7 separate regions of the Homo sapiens genome follow, and regions 1, 2, 4, 5, 6 and 7 are each linked to region 3. Evidence: promoter capture Hi-C in 16 types of primary human blood cells and fetal thymus (Javierre and others, 2016). All regions are on one chromosome and are shown on one strand. Each heading gives the region's core, a stretch centred on a gene start or on the middle of the fragment in contact. The rest is flanking DNA. Distances are from core to core; before and after follow the strand shown.

Region 1 (3,700 bases), core at 541-3,040, 320 kb before region 3:
AGACTATTCTTTGCAAGTTTTTCTAGAATAGTAATCACTGCAAAAGTCCTTTTACTATTTTCAGGCAACAACATTCTGGGAATTCATTGTATACTAGTTGCTATGTGGAGAGAAAATCAGAACCCTGCGTTTAAGACATTTAGAAAACAAACAAGAACACAGAACAGTCTTCCGTGCAAAGTAAGCAAATACTTTCTTGTGGATTTAGTCACGAGGAAAAGATCCCAGAGAAGAATGCCAAGCATATAGTAAGTTTAATAATCAGAACAAAATGGGATCAATTAGGAAAAACTATATACAGGAAATATTTTATATGGTAGTTGATCCTTTTTATGCTGACTATTTTTTAGAGTTTAAAATATGATTATTCTGCAGTCTTCTGAGTTGAAATTATTCAAGTGCCCATCAGGTTCAGAAATTCAGAGGAGTATACTGAATAATTTACTGATATTCCATGATATGTTTAATGTGTTGTTCCTCACTAGCAATTCATAGTTCAATACGCTGTGCAAAATTGTAATGAATGATGTGCTCTAAAGCAGCATTTCCATCAATATTTGTACGTGTATCCACAACAGATGCCTCACATGATTTGTGTGTCTAATTTTCACTGAATCCACTTATGCCTTCAGCACACCCAACAAGTAGTAATCAAGAGAGTTCAATCTATTAAATATACATATATATATTGTCTCCAGACTTTGTGGTCACTTGAATTTTATTTCTTTAAGATTCACCTACTCGAAGTCACATAAGCATTTTAACCATGTATATTATACCAAGTAAAAATTAATACTAAAATGAGGTAATGGAGAAAACAAAATTAGATTTCTTTTGCTTTCAAATAATCCCACACCAAAACATTTTGTGAAAATGAAGTGATTTTTAATTTATAAATAAAAGACTCTCTAAATGATTTTCAGGATGTATATTACAAGTTTAGTTTTAAATAGACTTAAATTTATAACAGGTCTTACAATGATTTCAATAAATAGGCACTCCAGAGCACAATGTGTACGTACAACAATCACGTGTTGACCTCTTAATATTCCAAGGGGATCAAAATCTTTTTCAAACACAGAAAGAAACTGGGCTTTGTGCAATGCTAACCCCAATAGCTATTCTCCTTTATAAACCACAATATTATTGTCAGTTTCGTATACTTTTACTTTATAAAGAACTCCTACAGGAAGAACTTTCTGGAGGTTGTCCCAGATATAAACAGCTACATTTTCAGTCGTGCTATAAGAAAAAAAAACAAAAACAAAAAAAATTCAAAATGCAAACAATAAAATTTCATGTTTAATATTTACAGAAAATAGAAATTCTAGTTTCGAAAGATTTCATTAAATTAAAACTTCAGAAATCACACAACAATCAAAGTATTCAAATCAATTCTTGTTTTACAATCCACATAAGGCAAGATACAGTGCCACCCACCTCACCACATCTGCAAAGTATGGCACATCCATATCCAGATTCTTATGATCAAGGGGCTGCATAATCGCCTCCTAGAGACAAAACCAAGGGAAAATATCATTGACTCCATTTACGACTCAAATTCCAAATTGTTCCACTTATGCCTCTAAACCTCACCTTATCACTTAGCCACTAACTAAATATTTGTAAGTACTAGATTTGAGTCTTACAAGGCAACTTTACAAAATTTCAAGTTGTAAAATAAAGTCAGGCCCAGCTGTCGGTAATGATTAGGAATCCTTGTTACTGAATAAAAAGAGGTGAGAAACCAAAAAGCAGAGAATTCCTGGAGCTTTCTCGCAACACAAGCCATTGTAATTCAGAATTCAGTTTAACACTTTGTGAATCCTGTCCAAACAGTTAGCACAAATATTTTTCCATAACACTGTCACACCTACGGAACAATGCCACAATATCATAAGGACAAAGATCCAGTGACTACTACATTTTATAAAGCAGACCTAGACTGAAATTATGTAAGTAGTTCTAAATTTTTGCTATGAGGAATAATTTAAGAATGATCTTGGGCTCATAGAAGGAAAAATATATATATGTAAAGACTATTACTCCCTAATGCTCGTGTATATTAACATAATGTTTTTCCTCATCATCAGCAAGGATTAAATTGCCTCATTCTTTCTAGGTTTTTGCTTTTAGCTATTGCAAAAAATCTAAGCATCTGTGAAAAAAAAATGTAATTTTCCATAGGACGTAGTTTGAAGAAGGGTACATTAATAACAGTAACAGCAATCATTTCTTGAGAAAAACTAGAATCATACAAAAAGAGTAAGTCCTAGATCAAACAGTTATTGAAATATATCCAATGAAGGGATGTTCCACATGAATAACAAGAAAACGGGCATCCTTGCTTCATCTTCAATCCCAGTTCCAGTCCCAATTTCTCCATTAAAGCCTCTTATGCAGGGCTTTTTGTTTTCTTTTGTTTTGTTTTTAGAGACAGGGTCTCTGTCATCCAGGCTGGAGTGCAAGTGGCATAATCATAGCTCACTGCAGCCTTGAACTCCTGGACTCAAGCAATCCTCCCCCCACGGTAGAGCTCTAACTTTACTCTACATGCCATGATAAGCCACTTTTACTGATGAAAGTGTGTGGTGTCCTTCAGGCATACAAAAGCAGAAAACAGCATAGAGAAGCCCTCCTCCAGTATTTAGTCATATGTTGAGGCCTTTTATGTTGCTGTCTTGTCTCTTTTCTTTCTTTTCTTTTCTTTTCTCTTTTTCTTTTTCTTTCTTTCCCCTCCCCTCTCCTCCCCTGTCCTCCCCTCCCCCTCCTCTTCTCCTGTCTCTGTCTCCCTCTCTCTCTCTCTCCGCCTGCCCCCCAACCCCTGCCCCATAAATGCATGCTGGCCCTATCTGTATAACTTTCCTAAAGTATTTTGAGCATAGTGCTGTTTCTTCATTCACTCATTCTTCTACTCATTTATTAAATCAACAGTTATTTAATAATATTCTTCACCTCCTAGAAAAAGTAATGTATACACTCTGTGGGCTACATCTCATTCATCTTTGTACACTTAGCTCAAAAACTGATGCGAAGTAGAGAAATTTGTTGAATATATGAATAAGTAATGTGAAAGAAGTAATCATTACTAATAACATCATTTTAATCAAGCAAATGTCAAATCTCAGAACAAACCTAAGCTGCAAGTGAAATGACAGCATAATAAAACAGCTGGAAGGAAAGAAATCTACTCCCAGCTTTGCAAATGACTAGCCATATGACCTGGGGCAAGTCAGTTAACTGTTCAGCATCTCTCAATCTTAATCTATGGGTTGAAGAAGTTGGTCTGAATAATCTCCAAAGTCTCTTACAGTGCAAGAATTCTATAATGACACAATCAGTTAAGTTCTTCATTGAACACCTTGTGTGTTATCTCTATGAGGTACTGCTCTGGTGAGTTTATAATAAAGCTAGAATGAACAACACAGTGTGGTGTCTAAATCTATGATCAAAGGTACAAGGAATATTCAGAGAGGGAAGAGAAAGCTCCAAGGAGAAGGCCAGGAGCAGTAGCTCATGCCTGTAATTCCAGCACTTTGGGAGGTCAAGGCAGGAGGTGTCTGAGACCAGCCTGAACAACATAGTGAGACCCCTACCTCTACCAAAAAGAAAAGTTTGCATTGGTTCTGTGCCTATTTAAAAAAAAAAAAAAAAAGAAAGACAGTAAGTCTCAAGGAGAAAGCTATGTCTTAAAAGAAAT
Region 2 (3,795 bases), core at 9-2,508, 330 kb after region 3:
AACCCAGGAGGCGGAGGCTGCAGTGAGCCGAGATTGTGCCACTGCACTCCAGCCTTTTAAATAAATAAATATTAATAAACATTTATTATTAATAAATAATAATAAATAAATAAAAATAAAAGCTTGCAGTCTGTGGTATCCCCATTTTAAAATTACAAATTTTAATGTATATTTTGCCTTTTAATTTTAATAGATGGTTTTGAATATTTTAGAAAAGATAACTTTTTAACAATATATGAAAAACAATTTCATATTAAAATTTTTTGTATTTATATTATACTTTTGATAAAAATATAAAAATTTATACAGCTTGAATAGATGTATATTTTAATTTTAATCTTTTTTATCACTACTGTTGATAAAACACAAATTATTTGAAAATCTTGATTATTACAACTTAACTGGGCCAGGCATGGTGGCTCACATCTGTAATCCCAGCACTTTGGGAGGCTGAGTTGGGAGGATTGCTTGAGGCCAGGAATTCAAGACCAGCCTGGGTAACATAGCAAGACCCGATTTCTACAAAAAAATTTAAAAATAGCTGGGTGTAGTGGCACAAACCTGTGGTCCTAGCTACTCAGGAGGCTGAGGTGAGAGGATTGCTCGAGCCCAGGAGTTCAAGGCTACAGTGAGCTGTGATTGCACCACTGCACTCCAGCATGGGTGACAAAGTAAGACACTATCTCTTAAAAAAAAAAACCGAAACAACTAGTGATTTTGCTAAAATGAGAACAAAAAAAAAAATAGATGCTTCATAAGTAGATAGAATGCAGATTTCTTTTAAAAAGGCAAACTACTTTTAAGAGTATGAATTCTACCTCAGAGCAATAGAAATCTATTATATAAGTGATTTCTCAATCTGGGTTTCTTAAATGGGGTTATAAGAGGTATATCATGATTTGGGAGGGGAAGGGATTTCTCAAAGCCCTTGTTAAACATACTGCATGTTCTGGAATATCAATTGCCCTTTTAAACTTCTGTTTCTTTAAGAAAAACAGAGTAGGTTGTGGGACTTGAACGAATATTTAAGATAAACACAGGACTTTGGAAAAATTTTGCATTTCCCAATAATTTTGCTTTGGGTCACTTTCCCAGGGCTTTGAGTACACACCGGGGTGTGTGTGTGTGTGTGTGTGCGTGTGTGTGTGCATGTGTGTGTGTGTGTGTGTGTGTTGTGTAGCTTTCATTCTTCTCTGTCAGTACTTCAGTGGAAAAGTTTAGGAAGCACTGGAAGAAATAATAAACAACTTACTAGGACAAGAGTTCAGATTAGTATGCCTAGGAAAGAATTGAAAGAAGACAGTTCCTAATGGCCAGGCGCAGTGGCTCATACCTATTTGTAATCCCAGCACTTTGGGAGGTTGAGGTGGGCTTGATCCCAAGAGTTTGAAACCAGCCTGTGCAACATGGCAAAACCCCATCTCTACAAAAAAATGCATAAATTAGCAGGACGTGGTGATGCATGCCTGTAGTCCCAGCTACTTGGGAGACTGAGGGAGGAGGATCTTTTGAGCCCAGGAGGTTGAGGTTGAGGCTGCAGTGAGGTGTGATCACACCAGTCACTGCACTCCAGCCTGAGCAACAGAGCAAGACCCTGACTAAAAAAAAAAAAAAGAGGGTTACCTTCATTTGAAAAGGCATTACACCATGTTGCCAGCTTAATTGATTGTTTTTGTGTATGCTACTAATGAGACCAAATCAATCATTCTATCCCTGCATGGACTGGTTAATTGAGCTCTTTTTCTTTGCTAAGATGTCCCAACCTTGGCCAGCCTTGCTGGTGTGTAACTGCTTGGTCATTAGCAAGAGTGCAGGAGAGAATGTGGAAGGCACAGCACAATCTAACAGTGCTTTGGAAAAACAACCAAACAGATGTTTCCACTAACAGTGGATAAGAAGCACTTCCTTCCTACAGATCTGTGCTCAGTTCTCTGCATACAGATCTGAGTTCTCAGTTCCACCAAGGTATACTGTGAAAAAGGAGTGAGTTTCATCTCCTTTTCTGTCCCTCTTTGCTCTATTTTCTTCTGCAGCATGGGAGAGTTAATACTAGAGAGAAGAGTCAGAGTGCTGAGGCAGGAAAAAAGAAACAAATATGAGGGGTTAGTGTCCTGATGCTGGTCCTGGTTAGGGCACTAAGTAGCTATGGACCTTAGATTAAGTCTGCTGAACTTTTCTAGGCCTCCTTTTCCTCATTTGTAAAATCAGAGTTTTGGTTTAGATGATCTCTTAGGTTCCTTCTAATTCCAATATTCTGGATTATTTTGAACATTTTCCTGCAAAGTTTTCCTTTACTTTTGTAACCCCCTAATATGCAAACTTAATGACATTCAAAAATGGTTTACTGAGGTGGCTCTCAGGAAACTTCTTAGGGTCAACAAGTTCCAAGCTTCTCAAAATAGAAGGATTATACCTTCTAAATAGAAGGATTATGTCAGAGTCCTGATTTTGAATTAGAAATATTGATATAATGAATGATGTGTATTAAAAAGATAATTTCCTAGTTCTCTCCCCTGAATAGGCCTAGAAATAGAGATCAAACTGCAGGCAACAAGCACTCCTAGCTCCCAGACAGAGATCTCTATTTACTAGTTTTCTCTAAAAGTAATCAAGACATGTAGCGGATGCTGTGGTTTGCCACCCAGATTCTCCATTCAGAACTGAGGCCTGGGATGCTGGGAACAGTGGTGGCTGTTGGCTGTCCCTGAATCACTCTCTGGGCATTGTCTTAAACCAAGGTTTCTTAGTCTCAGCACTATTGACATTTTGGACTGGATAATTCTTTGTTGTTGGGGACTGTTCTGTGCATTAGAAGATGTTTAGTAGAATCCCTGGCTTCTACCCACTAGACACCAGTAGCACCCTACCCATGGCTGTGACAACCAAAAATGTCTCCAGGCATTGCCAAATGTCTCTGGGGGACAAAGTGCCTTGATTGAGAACCACTGCCCTAACATGAAGAGAGTCACCTCACCCAGGGTTATACCATTCTCCCCAGAGGCAGCCCATATCTAATGACTGGTTAATGTGGATTATAAAGGTCAGGCTCTCTTGCCTCAAAGCAGGACATCTTACAGGGCTAGACCATCTCCAGTGTTCTGTGTGGAATTGGCTGTGACTGTACTGTGGTTCCACTGCTTTCTCTGCCCAGTCCTACTTTTGCCCCTCCCCCATAGGTGTTAATTCTAAGGGCAGTCCCTTAAATGCATGTAAATATTCAACTCAGAGTCAATTTCCTGGAAGAACCCAACTTGAGACAGGTCTTCTTAGAGAAATGGCTGATTCCAGGTTTGAAGCAGAGGATATGCCAGATAAACTTGGAACATCTTGTGATACCAGAAAGCAAGGAAGCAAGCTATGAAAGATTACTAGGATCATGTCAAAAGGACAGGAGTTAATTTACATACTCTTTTCTTGGCCACAGGTGTTCAAAGATGAACATCTGTAATGATTGATGCTTAAATTCATGACATAAAGATTTTTAAAAAGTCATTGGTCACTTTGAAGAATGCAAGGAACTACCTCTTAATTTTAAAAACTGGTAAATAAAATAAGCATTTTTTCCTGTCTTTCCTATATTGCCTATATCAGATAACCAAACAACTGATGAAGGGGAAGGCTCAAGTTAATAAAAAAGAAAGGATAGAAGTAGAATATCACCATTTTGCAGTCTTCAAAGAGGTAATGACCTCTTTCAAAGAAGCAATGATCATCAGTGGCTAAGAACAGCAGAAAAAGAAACAACTGGATATCATGGACCTCCTGCTAGACACCACCACAGTGCAGTGGTCTTGT
Region 3 (3,442 bases), core at 943-3,442:
TTTTTATTTTTTTGTAGAGACAAGGTTGCACTCTATTGCCCAGGCTGGTCTCTTACTCTTGGGCTCAAGTGATCCTCCTGCCTCGGCCTCCCAAAGTACTGGGATTACAGGTGTGAGCTGCTGCACCCAGCCAAGAAACAACTGCTTTAATGGAAGAATTGTAGGTATCTACCACAGCCTAATGAAATATGTATTTGGAGGCAGGAAGGTCTTTTGGACACTTCCCCCAAATCATGTAGCTGGATGTTCTCTTGATTGCAGAGAATAACTGAGGGGACAGACCTCAGGCTTTCCTGAATACACCGTACCCCCAGAGGATGGGAAGGTAATGGGGTTCCGTGATAATTGGAGAGGCTTTGTGTCTGTGCCCTGTGTATGCATACTCAGGCTCTCAAAATCAGTGACCATTTAAGTGGACAGACCTTAGTACATGAAAACAAAGTATTCACTCCAGGACTTTAGGCAACTCTCACCAGCCAAAAACCATTTTCCCAGCCCCTACCCAAAAAGGGCCAGACAGTCTGGAGACCCTTGTTTTTGTGTCTCTAATCACCAGCTCAGACAGTGCCCTCTGGGCTGTTTGGATGGCATATCCCTTTTCCCTCCCAGGATCACTCTCTCTTTTGTTGCATTGTGAGAAAATTATGGCTAGGAATTTGATCTGGAGCCAGAGTCAGCTTCCGGGTGTGATCTCAGCATCCAAGTGCGAGCTCAGGGTCCTATGACGTTGGGCACATCAAACTGAGGAGCTTTTTGTCTAGCTGGCTGTGACCTCCTCCCTCCCTCCCCATCCCAGCTTCCCGGCCACAGAATAGGGAGCAGTACAAACAAGGCCCTGAGATTTGGGTTTATTCAGCTCCACCCAAAACTAAACCAAGGCTATGACATGTCCCATGGGACCAAACCATACATTGTGGACCATGCACCTTTCCCTTCCCCCAAGGATGCTGCTACCTCTGGAGTGGTGGGCAGCTGCCCATATCACCTTGGGAGGTAGAGAGGGATTTGCTGGGTGCTGGGTCTGTGGCAATCAGGGCTCAACTATGGCTGCCTCCTCCTCTTCCTCTGGATCAGGAGGCGCAGGGAGCAGGGAGATGTAGACCTCATTGACCTCTGTGTCCAAATGTCGGCCACCCCGAGGTGCTTCCAGGTTTAAGATGCCATCATGGGAGAGAGCAGCTCGGACTCGCCAGGGGTCGACATCAGCAGGCAGGACATAGGTGCGGCAGAACTCTCGGGACACGAAGCCGTGGCGGTCCAGGCGCTGGGGGTGCCGGGCAGACACCTCCAGCAGGTTATCCACAGTCCTCACAGTCACCTCGTCTGGGGTAAAGTGGCTCACATCCAGAAATGCCTGGAACTTGCCCTCACTGAGCCTAAGCTCGGAGGCCCCTGCCCTGCTGCCCTCCCCAGCTGGGGCGGCCCGAGGCCGGACATAGTAGCCATGGTAGAGTGTGGGGGTCAGGATCTCTTCTGGCAGGAGGCCTAAAGGGCAGAGAGAAGGCAAGAGGCAGGATGAGGGAGGATGAGGCTGGCACAGGGGCGAAATGGGAAATCTGGAGAGGAGGGATTGGGAAGAGCAAGAGGGGAGTCAGGAGGAGTAGGGAACGGGAGGGAGGCCACACTGTAGCTAGGAGGAGAAGGCAGCTCGGAAGAGGGGAAAGAGAACGGAAAGGAAAGGGAGGAGGAGGAGGAGAAGGAGGAGGAGGGGGAGGAGGAGGAGGCACCAAACGGCCTGGGTGGATAGAAGGGGGACAAGGAGGCACACCCAGGCCGGCAAAGAGCAGGTATCAGCACTGCAAGCACCAAGTGTGTCTTGAGGTCAGCAGGAATGGGAAAGATCTCTGCTTGGAGGGGATGAGGGGTAGTCTGGGGTGGGGGGTGGCTGGTCCCAGGAGATCAGTTAAGCCCAGAGTGGGGTGGAGGCCAGCAACGTTGGGAGGTCAGCCCAGAATTTCAGGGGGTGGGGGTGGGGGGCAAGGGGGTGGTGTCTGTGCCATACCTTCTCCGAAGCGCTGCTCACCCAGGCGGCTCGGGTTGGCAAATTCGTACTCGGCGGTGGCCGGGTGGGCATGTGGCACTGAGCGGCCCGACATGGCTGCAGATGCAGCAGAAGCCCTGGTCCGAGGTGCAGCCCCAACAGGCGCAGCGCGACCCCTCCAGCTGCCCGGAGAGCCAGGGCTCGATAGGAGGTGGGGGCGGGGTCGACACCACCCAAAATAGTGCCGAGCCTCTTGGGGGGGGAGGGGCTGGGAGTGGGGGCCCTGAGTGAGAGCAACGAGGGTGTGACCAGCGCCGCCCGGACCCCTAGTCCCCTCCCCCGCACACTCTTCAGCTGTCGCAGGGGGCCTGAGAGGACAGCTGAGGGTCCTGGCTGGGAACGAGCTGGGGAGGGGGAGCTGGTGGTGCCTGGGGCATGAAGAGGCCTCGCTGAGACCCTCACAAACGGTTTGCACGTTTCCACACCTCATTTTCTCCTCTTCGGTGGCAGGCACTGTGCACCCAATTCCTAAAGCACTCCTGGATTTAATGTTCTGAGAGCCACATAGAACGAAAGATGCAAGAAATCTGTTTGCTCTTTTTTCAGGGGGTGGGGTCTTTCTGCCCAGATGTGGGATCCTCTCCTAAACCCAGGTCAACCCAGGGCACGAGGCAGATGGCTGGTGCTGACATGTTGACCATCACTGCTCTCTTCCAAGGACTCACAAAGAGTTAATGTCCCTGGGGCTCAGCCTAGGAAGATTCCAGTCCCTGCCCAGGCCCAAGATAGTTGCTGGCCTGATTCCCCTGGCATTCAGGACTGGAAAGGAGGAGGAGGGGCACACTACGCCGGCTCCCATCCTCCCCCCACCCCGCGTGCCTGCTTGGGATTCCTGACTCTGTACCAGCTTCAGAGAACAGGGGTGGGGGTGGGTGCCATTGGGTGTGGACAGAAAGCTAGTGAAACAAGACCATGACAAGTCACTGGCCGGCTCAGACGTGTTTGTGTCTCTCTTTTCTTAGCTCAGTGAGTACTGGGTATGTGTCACATTGCCAAATCCCGGATCACAAGTCTCCATGAACTGCTGGTGAGCTAGGATAATAAAACCCCTGACATCACCATTCCAGAAGCTTCACAAGACTGCATATATAAGGGGCTGGCTGTAGCTGCAGCTGAAGGAGCTGACCAGCCAGCTGACCCCTCACACTCACCTAGCCACCATGGACATCGCCATCCACCACCCCTGGATCCGCCGCCCCTTCTTTCCTTTCCACTCCCCCAGCCGCCTCTTTGACCAGTTCTTCGGAGAGCACCTGTTGGAGTCTGATCTTTTCCCGACGTCTACTTCCCTGAGTCCCTTCTACCTTCGGCCACCCTCCTTCCTGCGGGCACCCAGCTGGTTTGACACTGGACTCTCAGAGGTGAGTCTCCCCACAGCTAGGACGGGAGAGTCCTTACTGG
Region 4 (3,790 bases), core at 244-2,743, 370 kb after region 3:
CCCAGCACGAAGGGCGACGCCTGAGCAGGGAATGGTCGATGCAGAGAACAAACACTCACGCAGGCAGTGTGCCCACCGGCCAGGAAAGTTATGGGACACCGCGCGGATGGCATCCAAAGAACTTGGCTGAGTTGGAGCCCTCCCGACTGAAAGGAAAGCGGCTTCTACCAGAAGCCAAAAGATGTCCCAGATCCCTGGAAGGAAATGATTCTGTTTTTTGCAGGGAACAGGTTGGGAGGTGGGGGTCATAGTTAGGGAGTTCAGCTTTGGCCCCTCGCCCCGCAGGAAAGAATGAAACTATTATCTCAGGAAAAGCTTTCCTAACCTAGCCCTCAATGTGTGCTTCCTCTTGTAAACTCCCAAAGTAGGTGTGTTTCACTTTGGTTTCGTAAACAAAATGCTTTTAAATATAGTCAAGCAATAGAGTGAGCCATCTGTCCAAAGATTAAGGCACTAAGTAGCAGAAGGTGAATCTGACTTTCTGCCTTTTCTGCCACACCATGCTGCTGTGAAGCATAGCAGAAGCCCCATCTGGGCCACGACCTCTGGATTTTGGTTCCAGCTTGCTGCTTCTTACGTACTCTTTCTGCTTTTCAAAACAGCCAAGAAAGCAGTGATGCTTCTAAGGCCTCTAGCCACTGCAATTCTAAACAAACAGCCTGAATACAGGCTGGGGGTGAGAGGGGAGTGGGATGAATTTCAGTATCAGCTGAGACTATGGGGGAGCTCTGCTGCGGCACGTAACAGCTAACAGCGGTTGTGGCAGGATGAGGCCTGACCTTTATGGCAAGATCATTTATAGACCTTCCTTCTGTCCCAGTTAGAATACGTCAATGTCACATCTAACACACTTTCTTCTTAGAAATTCTTGGTTATCAAAACAACTTGAGAGAACTGTTATGGTGAAAAGAAGCACTGGAGTTGGCATTTGAGGGTCTGTTTCAGATTCTGCTCTTCATTTAATGTCTGTGTGGCCTTTGGCAATTCCGTTTGCCTAAGTTTCACTTAACTGTTGGTAACATTAACAGTTGCCTTAAGAGTTTAGTGAGTGTTTGATAAGGCAAATATATATGTAAATGTTCAGATATCTAGGCACTTAATGTCAATTGAAAAGGATTTATTTCTAATATTATAACATCTGCTACAACTTTAAAAAGCTGTTACATAATTAAATCGTGTCCCGACTTCTCGCTTTGATACCCTGGACCTTGGTTCAGATGGATTTTGTTAGGGTATACAGTCAACCAAACCTGGTAGATTACAATAACGGCCCCAATTCTCCACACCTCCCTGTACCCATATCCTTTACCATATGACTTTGTAGTTTCTCTTTCTAAAGAGGCAGAGTATATTTCCCCACACCTTGACTTTGTGTTTGACCATGTGATTGACTTGTTTGGCTAACAGAATGAGTCAGTTCTGAGCTTAGACCAGAAAGGCCTCATATTTCTTTTTCTTCTCTGCCACTCTCTGAGAGGAACATACCTTAGATATCCCACTGGTCTATGTGTATCCCTAAGAGGATGACAAATGGAGCAGAGCTACCTCAGGCAATTGACAAACTTGCAGTAAGAGACAGAGCTGCTCTAGGTGCTGTAGCTTGAAGCAGAGCTCTCTGGCTAAGCCTAGGTCAGCCAAACTAGATCACACAAAACTGCAGATGTGTGAGCAGTAATAAATGTTGTTTTAGACCCCTTTGTTATGCAGCATTGTTGCAGCAATAGCTAACCATTACACTTGGCAATGTAGGGAGGTATCACTAGGGGAAGGCTGGTTGCCAAGAAAGTCCACAAAGTAGAATTTTTCTTGGTAAAATTACCCTGGTCCAGGGTCCAATTCCTAGTTTAACATGCTCAAACCCAATCTAAGAGACTAATATATTTACACATTGAGAAATAGAATTGTCAGGTAAACTAATGCTTGCATTGGCCTGTTGAACACATATTCTCCCTCTGGGCAAAAAAGATTTATCAGCATGGAATCAGAATGAAAGGAATTAGTTATATGATTTAATAGTTTAGGCTTTGATAGCCTGCTGTGTCCATCTTCACAACGAAGACCTACCTGCCAGGCAGACAGATACATCAACCAGACAGGATACCTTTTATTCTTGCTGGTGCTAGGATGGGGCTGCCAATTTATAACTTTCAAAATTTTCCTTTCCTAGGCCTGACTACCTTCCTTTTGTTCCGAACATTTTTCTTCAAATAGCGTTGTGCCAGAACCTTGTCATTGTCCCCTAATATCCATTCTCCACTTCTTTTGGCTATAGAATCCCTGAATTTTAATTAGACAGAAGCCCCCTCCCCATTTTCTAAAGACAATTTCCAGCCTCCCTTGCAGCCTGATGTGTCCTTGTGATTACGCTCTGACCAGTGGGCCACCCAGTCTTCTGTTGGCACAGTGGATGGGGGCTGTGTCTTATGAAAGCTATGTCCAAGAGTTCCAAGTGGAGGCCAGTAGTGATGGAAATGGTGGTCCTAAATAGAGCTGCAACCTCTGGGTAACCCTCTTACCCTAAATACATGTTGCTTACCCAAGAGTCAGACTCCTGAGATTTCATCATTGGTAACTGATTTCCTTGGATTACCCATTGTTCCCTTTATTCAGCCTTCTTTTAAAATGCAAATATTCCTGGGTGGATAATAAACATATTGCTACTAAAGCTTTACTATAAACACACTTTCCAGTTCTTTCTTTCTGACAGAAGGGGGCCTGGATTATGCTAAGATCTCTCGAAGGAGGGATGGGGAAGAGCATCTAACCCTGAGTAGGACTGCCATTTGGACAGCGCAGAAGGGACAAATCCTTAATCTTTTCTTTTCCATTACATAGCAAAGGGAATGAAAGTGAGGGGGGTTGGCACTGGGTTTATGTATGTGTGTAAAACATAGGCACGTGGAGCCAGTTATTCACAGAGGTAGAAGCAACTCACTTCTGACTTCAGACATGTTTCAGAAATGGAACAAACCAAATTTTGCTAAGTGGTTTTCTTATTAAAGCAAGTAGACTTGAAGTTTTCAAAACTGCCCTTTCATTCCTATTTCCTGATTGTTTTTACTGGTGGTCTACAAGTTAAGACACATAAAGCCCCTGTTTCTTGCTTACCTGATATTCATAATATAGATCTAGCATAGAAATTCTGGAAATACCCTTCAAATGAAAACAAGATAAATAGGAGTTTGAGAATGTGGTAAGATGAAAGAGATGTATGTTGTGGTGTCAAACAGTAGTACCCAGTAAGTAAATAGACACAAATATTCAATAGCTGGTAGAATTCATAGAAGCCTGCATATTTAACCTTTATTTCTTTATTTTAACACAAGTACTCACTAACTGGTAAAATTCCTGGAAGTCTGCGTATTTAACTTGTATTTCTTTGTCTACTATAATGTTGCCAGTGATCTCAATGATCCTGATCTAAGAGAAGGTTGTTTCCAAAGTGAAGGTATAAGTGAGCCATCCTCTGCCATGTGTCAAGCAAATTAGTCCAAAGTTTTGACTTCTTCTTGGTCCTCTTTATCTGACTCTGATACCACTTTCCTGTTGGTAGTAATATCAGTCAGTTCCAATACACAGAACTCCGCCATTGTGAACATGATGTAGCATGAAAACAACTTTTGAAAATTCTCCCAATAAAAATTCACTGTTGTAGATTCTATGTGTTGGGTTTTGCAACCAAGTATAAACTTGTATGTGAGAGAAGTGGTTATGATATTGTGAAGTGTGGTTTGGAGGTACAGGAGCCCTCCTACCCCAAATATGTTTTGTTTATTCTAGAGTCAGACTC
Region 5 (3,291 bases), core at 27-2,526, 350 kb after region 3:
GAGAGGGCCAGATGGTGTGTTGCTTCTTTGTGCTAGGGTCTGGCTGCTCCCGTTTTCTAGGAAGAAAGAAAACCAGGGCTGAGTGTTTTAGACCAGGTGATTGAGAATACCCTTGTGCTTCCTGTTGAGACGAGAGGAAGCAGCCCTGGGCAGTCACCCAGCTGCATGTCTCGTCTATGTAACTTACAGGCCAGGGCTTCGGAGTGGGAGGGAACCAAACAGGGAGATGTTATGTTCAAAGTGATTGTGTATCTGTCATTCACTGCTGCCCAAGTGTGGGCAGGGTTATTATCCTGGGGTTCCCTAGAGTCCCTGGAGTGTCCAGGGATAGAACTGAATAGAGAAAAAATACCACATTACAAAAAAAACCCAAAAAAACAAAAAAACACCTCAGCTGTGCACAGTGGCCCACGCCTGTAATCCTAACACTTTGGGAGGCTGAGGCAGGTGGATCACTTGAGCCCAGGAGTTTGAGACCAGCCTGGGCAACATGTTAAAACCCCGTCCCTATAAAAGATACAAAAATTAACCAGGCATGGTGGTGCACACCTGCAGTCCCAGCTAGTTGGGAGGCTGAGGTGGGAGGATAACCTGGGAGGTCAAGGCCGCAGTGAGCTGTGATGGTACCGCTGCACTCCAGCTTGGGCGACAGAGTGAGACCCTGTCTCAAAAATAAAATAAAATAAAATAAAATAATAAAATAAAATAAAATAAAACCAAAACAACAAAAAACACGACTCATCCATAAGTGAAATTTAGCATGTCCTTCCATTATGAATGTAAGAGATAAAACAGCAGGATTAATATCTTTGACTTGATCACTACTAGAAATTATAGATGTTTTCATATCACAGTTATAGATGCCTTGAAATATTTTAACCTCATCTCTACTTCAAAATTATAATAATTATACCCAGCACTAAATAAAGAAGCATTAATAAAGGAGTACATGTATTACTAATCACATATTCATTTTTGGAAATATTTTGCTAAACTATATAACAGTATGATTGCTTCCTTTGCAACCCAATGTATTTTATTTTATGCATTTAAAATATTGTACTGGGCCGGGTGTGGTGGCTCATGCCTGTAATCCTAGCACTTAGGGCAGCTGAGGTGGGCGGATCACCTGAGGTCAGGAGTTCGAGACCAGCCTGGCCAACATGGTGAAACCCATCTCTACTAAAAATACAAAATTAGCCAGGCATGGTGGTATGTGCCTGTAATCCCGGCTACTTGGGAGGCTGAGGCACGAGAATCACTTGAACCCGGGAGGCGGAGGTTGCAGTGAGCCGAGATTGCGCCATTGCACTCCAGCCTGGGCGACAGAGAAAGACTCTGTCTCAAATATATATATATATATATATTTTTTTAAATAAAATAATAAATAAAATAAAATATTGTTCTGGAAGGAGTCCATAGGCCTCACCAGACTGCTGCAGGGCACAAAAAAGATTAAAAACCCTTGGGATAGACAGACACCCCAGCTTTAGAGTCACAATTCCCAAATCCTGTTAAAGTACAAAACAGAGAGTCAGGAAAGGAAATCAAGAACCAACTGAGTAGGCAGAGTAGGCAGCTGGAAAATATGCCTGTAATTTTTTGAACTAAATTCTACTTTAAGATTCAAAGGAAATAACTAATAAAATAATCCCAATAATAGGTAACATTCAAGTGCTTAGTATATACTTATTCTGCAAGTATTAACTGCCTTAATCCTTATAATAATCCTACAAGGAAGTTACAATTAACTGAAATAGATTTTACATTGGAATCTTACTAATTCATCTCAAATTGGTCTTTAAAGGGAGTCAAATCTTAAATTGGGCCTTAGTTTTCCTGTTGTAAATGGGAATACTAGACATCTTCTCCATATACCATGATGATGGAGAATAAAAAGGTAACTGAGAAGAGCTTTCAGTACTAAAAATAAAATAAAATAAAATAAAATAGTGGCACACGATCCTGACCATATACAGAAATTGTTGATGCCACCTAGTGTAGCTATTTTATAGCACTCTATACTTGTGTACTGAATTAAAAGAAAAGTCAGTTAAAAGGAATTTGGCTCTTTCAGTTTGAATTAAGTGGTTTAGTTTCAGATGTTTACCAGAATACTTTGCAGCAGTCATTTTTCATATGGCTCACTATTCATTCCTTCACTCAGTCCACAAACATTTTCAGAGTGAGGGCATACATTCATGAGAGCATTTTTGCTGGGTGACGTGTGAGTGCACGGGAGGTGAATAATGCAATTTCACCCTTCAAGTTGTTTTAAAATCTTCCACGTACAGACAGTAAAGCAAGTAAGATCACTCTCTTAATCACAACTAAGCACAAATGCCTAGTACTTCTGAATGCCCTGACCTGTCAGAGAACCCACTCTCCAATCTGCAATGGTGATACTCTTGGTGCTGCCGTGGGTTTTAATGAAGTAAACAAGGCAATATCCAAATCTCAAAGAGAGCAGAAGATGCAAAGGTTTACACAATGAAGGTTTTACTTGCCTTTTTCTACAGATCCAAACCCAACATACAACTGTGGTGACCACAAGGAGGAGGAGAAGGGGAATGCTGGGGATTAGGATGTAGGCCAGATTCAAGGCAGCTTCTGAAAAGAAAGAAAGCACATGATCAGCATTGGCTGTTTTTTGTTTTGTTTTTCTGTGCTTCAAACCAGGCTTAAAAAAAGCATAATCGTCAAAAACCACTTGTACCCCCAAATCTATTAAAATTAAAAAATTAAAAAACAAAACAAAGGAAAAGGCTAATCAACACAGAGTATTCCAAAGAGCTCATTCCTGAGTGATCAAGACACATCTAGCCAGTTAGCAAAGAGTCTTCTGGTTTCGATGGATGAGCATTTTCTACCTGTCCTATTACCCTAAGTGATAATGAAAATCAGTTTAAATTTTTAGGTCTTCCAAATATCAGAAGGGCACTTTTGTTAATTAAGCTTTTTGTTTTTTTTTTCAGAGAAAAGAGAGTCTCTCTTTTCTTGTCCTCCCTTAGTAAAGCAGGGGCCGCTGGGGCAGTGTTGATGCTTTTGCCTCCAAGGACAGTCACGGAGTTCCCACGATGGGATGGGGGAAAGAGAGGGAAAAAGAAGCAAGCCAGAAGTTTCAGTGTCATTACCAGGAAAGAGGTCACAGGAAGCAAGTAAATTACAGTGTAAAACCTTTCTGACATTTCTAAGACCAATTAGATTCAGTTGGGTCCATGAGCCATGACTGTGAAGAGCACTTAGAGGCTTACTTTTCTGAACTTTCTAGTCCTTTAAGACTTAGAACCA
Region 6 (3,327 bases), core at 498-2,997, 370 kb before region 3:
CCTGGGCAACAGAGTGAGACACCATCTCAAGGAAAAAAAAAAAAAACTGTAGGGCAATCTAATATTGAGTCTTCAAGCTATCCTGCACTACTTAGTAGTTTGCATGGAGCCCAACAAAAGTTGAGTGTTGCCTTTGGCCTTTAAAATATCTCAAAGAGCCCCTCTGAATCCACAGCAGCTCCAAGAACACCTCAGCACAGAGTTTGGGAACATGCATGGAACTCACTCCTGCTCCTCTCCTCATCCCACACTCCCCAGGGTTCACAGTGCTCCTCCTGCAAGCATCTTCTTTCTTGCCAAATGCTTTCCCACCTCAGCACTTTGTGCCCTTGCTCTTCTCTCTGCCTGGAATGCTCTTCCTCAGGTCTCCGCAGGCCCAGCTCCTTCTTGGCCTCCAGGTCTTGGTTCAAAGACCACTGTGCTCCCTAAAGCCTCTTCAGGCCTCCCACCAAATCACTTCTATCCTATGGGCCTGTTTCCTTTTCTGTATAGCTTTTATCACTATCTGAAGTTATCCTGCTTAGTTTACTTACTTATTTTCAAGCTTCCCCACCAGAATGTGAACTTGATGAGAACAGAGACTTTTGTTCATTACTGTTTCCGCAGAACCCGCAACAATGGTTAGCAATAAGTAGACAATAAACAATTGTTCAATGAATGACTGCAGCCTCTACACTCAGCTCAGGGAGATAAAAGGTAAGAAGAATGTGCTTTACACGTGCTATCCCCTTGGATCTTCACAACACTCTTTGGAAATAGATACAAATAGACATGATTAACCCCATTTAATAGATGAGAAACTCACATTGAAAGAAGTTAAGTGTTCAAAGCTGCACAGCTGAAGTGGCAGAGCTAAGATTCAAGTTCATGTCTACTTGACTGCAAAGGCTGCTTTTCATAAAATCACATTAACATCATGTTGGATACCTTCGATACACACAATACATTTTTTTTTAAGACGGAGTTTCACCCTTGTCACCCAGGCTGAAGTGCAGTGGCACAACCTCGGCTCACTGCAACCTCCACCTCCTGGGTTCAAGCGATTCTCCTGCCTCAGCCTCCCAAGTGGCTGGGACTACAGGCATGAGCCACTACATTGGCTAATTTTTGTATTTTTAGTAGATACAGGGTTTCATCATGCTGGCCAGGCTAGTCTCAAACTCCTGACCTCAGGTAATCCACTGGCCTTGGCCTCCCAAAGTGCTGGGATTACAGGCATGAGCTACCGCACCCGGCCAACATTTATTTTTTTTAAAAAAAATGTTAACCACATTGCCTCCCATTATCCCATTATCCACCTAGAAAAGCTAATAATAACAATGGCAAAGTCAAGAAATGTAGCCAAGGGGCCAACAGAGCCCCAGAGTCCTTAGAGAAACTGGCCACATCGGCATTTCCCCACTCGAGGACTCAGCCCCTGCCTCCAGTAGAAAATAGCAGAGGTGCCCACCTGGGAAGGCCTTGCCTTTATTATTCCTCTGGCCATAGCTGGCCATACCAAGGAGACCTCTTGCAGACATATCTTCTGGCCTGGCCCATGTTACTCTGTAAACCTAATGACATGTGTAACTCTCGTTGCTGATTACAACTGCCGAGCTCCTGTTGATCATCATGACAGGTAAGAGGCAAACACACATGCAGCTGCAATCAAGGACATGATGAGCACCTACCCTGAGCTCTGGATGGCACTGGGTGCTCAGGTTGCCCACATTTTAGACAGTCGCTGATTGGAGCAAGAATTATTAGGCCACACTCATCTGCATCCCCCAGGAAATGCTGGGTTGCCTTGACCCCCTGGGAGGAGTTATGAAGGGTCCCCACAGGCTAGAGCTTGGGTGGCTGGACACTGAGTTGGAGACCCTCGTACAAAGAAAGGGAGATTAAAATTTGTTCTGTAGAGTCAAGGGACTTGTGCTTGTCAACTTCCCCTCTTCATATGGCTTTGTTTCCCCATGTTGCTTTTAAACAGGTGGTTCAGGCAGGAGAAGAAATCAGCTCTTCCCTCCTCACCCCTATACTCCCCTTGGCCTGGCCCAGCTATAACTTCTGCTTATTCAAGACTCAGTAGTGTTGGTGCTGCCTCCAGGAAGCCTGTCCTGGCCCCTGAGACCTCTCCTCTGTGCTCAGAATAACCCCCATACATCACTGGATCCTGGTACTCGCCCTGCTGCATTATAATTATCTAAGTGTGGGTCTGTCTCCCATCCGGGCTGTGAGCTGAACTGAGGTAGGAACTGTGACCCATTTACTGTCATGTCTCCAGCTAACACCATGCCTGGCACAGAGTAAGTGGAATAAATATCTGGGCTAATGGAGTTGCTGGATTACCAGACTACGTGTTCTGACAGGTAGCTGGGAAGATAGGATCATCATAGTTCTAGTCTCTGTGCTGCCGACATTCACAAGCTCTTGGAAGACCTTAGGAATCATCTAGCCCTGTGCACAGGTTCCCACATCCTGAGGTCCCTGCACCAGGAAGGGTGGTCTGCCAGAACTACAAAGGCCGAGGGAACAACTTCTCAGGAAAGCCTTGGCCACAGGCTACTCTCATTTCTGAAGGCTCTGAGCCTATCTCACTGACCATTTAGAACAAATTGTTCATGACTCAACTTCATTATCTTCTACCCCGTATAGGAGCCCCAGCCTCCTCGGCTCTGCATTAGGTCATTGTTATCGCTCCCTTGTGGGCTTGCCATGTCACCTCCACAAGCAGCAGCAAAAATCACTTGCCAGAAAAAATGTCAGAAAAGCAATTAACATGAGCCTGGGTAGCAAGAAAGAAGCAACACATAAGAACAAAGGAGATGGCTCCTCCCTGCAAAGTCTGTGATTGCCTACCAGGGAAGCCAGCTCTGGGAGACCTGGGGATTGGGCTTGAGCCATCAGCCTCTGCCCCTGGTGCTTTATTTCAGAAGCACCAGCATCCCTTTAATCATGCGCAGGAAGCTTGACTGCTGTGGGAGCCCAAAGGGACCACCTGAAGCCTGTGATGAGACGGGCTGCAGCGCAGGAGAAAGACAGAGTCTCTCCCACTGCCTACTGAGGAATGCAGCTGCTCTGCAGCTGAACTTGGAGAGGCAAGAAAGAGAACAGACATTTAGGAAATGAGAGGTGACCCAGTGTCTGAACACTGAAGGTCATGGGGAGATACAAGAGACAGAGAACAGGCTGAGCATGGTGGCTCACGCCTGTAATCCCAGCACTTTGGGAGGTGGGCAGATCACGAGGTCAAGAGATTGAGACCATCCTGGCCAACACAGTGAAACCCCGTCTCTACTAAATATACAAAAATTAGCTAGGCGTGGTGGCACATGCCTTTAATCCCAG
Region 7 (3,739 bases), core at 651-3,150, 390 kb before region 3:
CTACCAAAAAAAGAATTTTTATAAATGCCCTTTCATTCACATCTATTTTTGTTTGATATTTCTACACCCTAAGCTGTAGGACTGCAAGAAAAAGAGAGTTTTTGGGACAGAAAAAGCCATGTGGGAAACCCAGAAACAGATCTCATCTCACCTGTCCCTATCAGCCTCTTCTGCCCGCCACACGTTGCCCTGTGCAGCCTGGGGTCCCATAGCACCAACTCAAGGTGAGGCACTGGGGGCAGCCTCTCGTGCACTGCCCTCTGACCATCAACACACACCCATTCTCACAGATCCTCAAACAGCATTGGCCACACAATTTGGAGGGCTTAGTGCAAAATGAAAATGTAGGGGCCCCTTGTTCAAAAGGTATTCAGACTTTCAAAACAGCAATAGCAGAACATCAAACCAAGCTGAGGGCCCTTCTAAGCACAGGGCCTTGATCAACCTCACAGGTCACCTATGAAGCTGTCCCTGTCCTCAAACTTCTCCAGAGGGGGCCCAAACAGCTGGGAGAGTCAGAAACAAGTGAGACGCACCATCTCCCACCTTGGCTTCTCCATCCAGGCAAAACCTGACGTGGAAAACCCTTTCCTACAGTACCTCAGTATTTTGATTAAAAACCATGATAAACTTGTGGGTGCAACAAAAGAAGAAATTGATGTTTTAATACAACTCATTACAGCACCTTTATTAACTCCAGAAATAGAAAGAGAATATAAAATAGAAAGATTAGTTTAAAATCAACACTGCGCTGGTAAGGGCAGCCACGATTCCAGCAACATTAATTGCTGGATAGCCTCATTACTGATTAAATAAGAAATCTCAAATACCATTAGACAATTGTGATTAAATGTATGTCATTCTAATTGAATGTGTGGCTTATTGCCTTCCACTGAATCAGCAGGTCACCTTCCTGTTTTGTATATTTGAAAGGGCACAGCTATGCAGTGACAGCACAGAGCCATTATTTCTCAGAGAGCCCTGAAACCCTCGCAGTTGTATCCTAAAATATGGCTGTATGTGCAGGTGGTGAAGGAGTATGCCATACAATAGGGAACCTGAGATGATGAAAATAAATCCCACTTAATGTCACAGCTGGGCACTTTTTCCTCTGATCTCATTACCCAGCTCTGGAGTCACTTGCAGTCCCCCTGACTTTGCAGTCATTTGAGGACTAGGGGGAGTTGGGCATCTTCTTGGTGCAGAGAGGAAGCTCCAGATCCAGCTCAGCAACTGGATCTGGCTGAGATGGTGGGGAAATGAAAAATCTCTGGTCTCATCTCTCCCTCACTTCTGCTAAGGAGCCGGGACAGAAGAGTCTTCTAAGGTCCATCCTTTTTGGTTTCCCAAGGATGAAAATACAAAATTAACGTTGTCACTGCTCTGACTGGTCTTTGCTGCTCACCTATCCCTTGGGACATGGGCTATCATCTCTCCACCCTGCTCTCGGCTTTGCCTGGAATAAAAGCCAAGGTGAAGCGGGACAAGCACCTTGCTGCAGGCCCGCGGGCTGTGTAGTCCCACACAGCACATCACTCCAGAAGGGACCAGGACAACACCAATCCCAGGGCCCACCCTGGAGGAAATCATACAGTAGGTTAGGTCATTCTCAGTTGAGTTTTGTTACATGGCCGTGCACATACGTGAGCGTGCACACACGCACGTGCACACACACACACACATGCACTCAGAGTTACCCCAATCTGCCTAAGCTCCAGATCTGGTCACATCAGTGCCCTGCTTCGGGTAAATGCTGGGTTTTTTCCCACCAGCTGGGCCTTCAAGGCCTCCACCAGCTTCCCCAACCACCCTCTCCCCTTGATCCCCCAGTGACAGCCTATACCCCTGCGCAAGGACTCCCAACAGACCCAGCACAGGGACGCACACGCTGCCTGCTCTGTCTGGAATGCTCTTGTTACAGTTACTGGGAAATTACTTCATATCTTGTTTCTCCAGAGTCCCTGGAAAGGAATGTTTCCCGCTCATAAGAATTAAGAACTGTTCCTAAGGTCTAGGCTCCCCAGTCACCAGAGGGTGGTCAATACGGTTCTATATTTCAGTTCAAATGAGGAGAAAGGAGGGTGGGCTCCAGGGCAGCCTGTCGGTGAGGGCTCAGATTATACAGGCTGCTGGCTGCATGGGGCTGAGTGAAATGAAGTCACCAAGCCTTGGGAGCTACAGAGAGGTGTGGTGAGACTGGTGCCACCCCCAAAGCTGTCCAAGAGACCAGGCTGGTCTGGACATGGCTGTGAGGCAAGATGGGTTCAGGAGGTGCCACAGTGCTAGACAGATGGTGGAAGAGCAGCTTTCAAGAGCAGTCTCAGATCCCTGCAGAGTGGAACCCACAGACTGAGACCCACATCTGTTATGGGGTTCCTGGAAAACCTTGTCAGGGGGGTGCCCCAAGTAATGACTGGTTTTTAGACTTCTCACCAACCTTGACTAACAAGAACTCAGAGCTCAACTGACTTGATTAAATATCTATACTTGACTGGGCACGGTGGCTCATGCCTGTAATTCCAGCAGTTTGGGAGGCTGAGATGGGCAGATCACCTGAGGTCAGGAGTTTGAGACCAGCCTGGCCAATGTGGCAAAACCCCATCTCTACTAAAAATACAAAAAATTAACTGGGCGTGGTGGCAGGCAGCTGTAATCCCAACTACTTGGGAGGCTGAGGCAGGGAGAATTGCTTAAACCAGGAGGCGGAGGTTGCAGTGAGCCGAGATCACGCCACTGCACTCCAACCTGGGTGACAGAGCAAGACTCCATCTCAAAAAAATAAAAATAAAAAATCTATACTTAAGCATCTTGGAGCAGCCATACCAAGTACAACTTTCCCCTTCTTCCCACAGGATGGGCTCCTCACCTCTTCCAGGAAGTCCTCCACACTGCTCCCGCAGCCACTCATGTCCATGCTGCTAGTAGAACACCGACCACGTGGCTCTGGCAAGTAGGGTATGTACAAGGCTCTCCCAGGCTACATTAAGCCCATCCTTGGTCCCCAGTACCTAGCAGCCTGCCCAGCACATAACACATGCTCAGGAAATATTGAAGGCAGGAAAAACAAAGAAGGGAGGGAAGGAAACTTCAGCTGCCCAGGCCCCCACCAAGCTACCTCCTACACATCACCAGACCCAGAACTCCCTCAACCACCCCAACACCTCCACCAGGCCCTGCCCCATATGCCTGTAACACTTGGGGTACCCACTACCATGCTTGACCCACTTCAAGGCAGTAAAGCACGCCAGTCATAAGCCTGACGTCTGGAGCCAGCTCATCTGGGTTCAAATCTCAGCTCTGCCACTTATCAGCTGTATGACCTTAGGTAAATTATTTAACCTCTCTGTGCCTCATCTGCAGCAAACTATATAAAACAGCACCTGCTTCTTAGGGTGATCATGAGCGTCAAATGAGTAGAGCGATTTTGAAAGGATACATGGTACTTAGGGAATGTTATCTTATTATTGCATTATGATTATCTACTTAAAAACTCATCCCCCCACTAAACCAGGAGTGCCCCAAGGGTAAGAATCATGTCTAGGTTTTTTTTTTTTTAATATATCCAGAACTTAGCACAACCCCTAGACTGGCTTAGAATAGGCATCAGTAAATGATTGCTGGATGAATCAGTAAATGATGCAGATTCTAGGTAAGAGCAGAGAGCTCTGGCAAGCCTGTGGAAGAGAGGACCTGAGGGCTGTGGGTTGGCTTTAAGACTGCTTGGTAAGGGACAAACAAG

What was found. The method cuts DNA at HindIII sites, captures the fragments that hold promoters and counts their contacts. A CHiCAGO score of 5 or more calls a contact.
Region 1: a contact is called between a fragment that was not itself captured here and the fragment with the promoter of HSPB2 in region 3, in 1 of 17 cell types (neutrophils). The highest score is 5.0, in neutrophils.
Region 2: a fragment that was not itself captured here is called in contact with the fragment with the promoter of HSPB2 in region 3 in 2 of 17 cell types (total CD8 T cells and erythroblasts); the score reaches 6.8 in total CD8 T cells.
Region 4: a fragment that was not itself captured here is called in contact with the fragment with the promoter of HSPB2 in region 3 in 2 of 17 cell types (naive CD4 T cells and total CD8 T cells); the score reaches 5.1 in naive CD4 T cells.
Region 5: a contact is called between a fragment that was not itself captured here and the fragment with the promoter of HSPB2 in region 3, in 4 of 17 cell types (total CD8 T cells, naive CD4 T cells, naive CD8 T cells and 1 more). The highest score is 6.1, in total CD8 T cells.
Region 6: a fragment that was not itself captured here is called in contact with the fragment with the promoter of HSPB2 in region 3 in 1 of 17 cell types (erythroblasts); the score reaches 5.4 in erythroblasts.
Region 7: a fragment that was not itself captured here is called in contact with the fragment with the promoter of HSPB2 in region 3 in 1 of 17 cell types (neutrophils); the score reaches 6.2 in neutrophils.

The regions. Positions count from the first base shown.
Region 1 is chr11:112,230,974-112,234,673 of GRCh38, reverse strand. PTS (6-pyruvoyltetrahydropterin synthase) reads right to left here. Exons shown (of 6, transcript NM_000317.3): 5 at 1,441-1,511; 6 at 701-1,242. The coding sequence ends at 1,119. Among named protein-coding and RNA genes, the nearest start is that of PTS, 6.4 kb to the right of the region's middle. The HindIII fragment of the contact is 7,627 bases long and covers 1-3,700 here.
Region 2 is chr11:111,580,413-111,584,207 of GRCh38, reverse strand. No RefSeq gene overlaps it. Among named protein-coding and RNA genes, the nearest start is that of SIK2, 20 kb to the left of the region's middle. The HindIII fragment of the contact is 2,267 bases long and covers 125-2,391 here.
Region 3 is chr11:111,911,484-111,914,925 of GRCh38, reverse strand. It overlaps HSPB2 (heat shock protein family B (small) member 2), which reads right to left and starts at 2,192. Exons shown (of 2, transcript NM_001541.4): 1 at 2,003-2,192; 2 at 833-1,485. The coding sequence starts at 2,096. The coding sequence ends at 1,031. CRYAB (crystallin alpha B) reads left to right here and starts at 3,156. Exons shown (of 3, transcript NM_001289808.2): 1 at 3,156-3,402. The coding sequence starts at 3,202. HSPB2-C11orf52 (HSPB2-C11orf52 readthrough (NMD candidate)) reads right to left here and starts at 2,190. Exons shown (of 5, transcript NR_037651.1): 1 at 2,003-2,190. RefSeq lists an enhancer at 788-1,441. The HindIII fragment of the contact is 6,880 bases long and covers 1-3,113 here.
Region 4 is chr11:111,536,523-111,540,312 of GRCh38, reverse strand. HOATZ (HOATZ cilia and flagella associated protein) reads right to left here. Exons shown (of 6, transcript NM_001100388.2): 6 at 3,270-3,543. The coding sequence ends at 3,486. It also overlaps a transcript of LAYN not described here. Among named protein-coding and RNA genes, the nearest start is that of LAYN, 2.3 kb to the left of the region's middle. RefSeq lists an enhancer at 1-490. The HindIII fragment of the contact is 2,351 bases long and covers 318-2,668 here.
Region 5 is chr11:111,556,860-111,560,150 of GRCh38, reverse strand. It overlaps LAYN (layilin), which reads right to left. Exons shown (of 7, transcript NM_178834.5): 6 at 2,508-2,610; 7 at 1-56. Among named protein-coding and RNA genes, the nearest start is that of LAYN, 18 kb to the right of the region's middle. The HindIII fragment of the contact is 3,362 bases long and covers 1-2,957 here.
Region 6 is chr11:112,285,528-112,288,854 of GRCh38, reverse strand. All of the region lies in intron 1 of LINC02762 (long intergenic non-protein coding RNA 2762), which reads right to left. Among named protein-coding and RNA genes, the nearest start is that of LINC02762, 16 kb to the right of the region's middle. The HindIII fragment of the contact is 2,402 bases long and covers 547-2,948 here.
Region 7 is chr11:112,303,707-112,307,445 of GRCh38, reverse strand. The region is part of intron 2 of LINC02762 (long intergenic non-protein coding RNA 2762); the gene reads right to left. Among named protein-coding and RNA genes, the nearest start is that of LINC02762, 35 kb to the right of the region's middle. The HindIII fragment of the contact is 9,013 bases long and covers 1-3,739 here.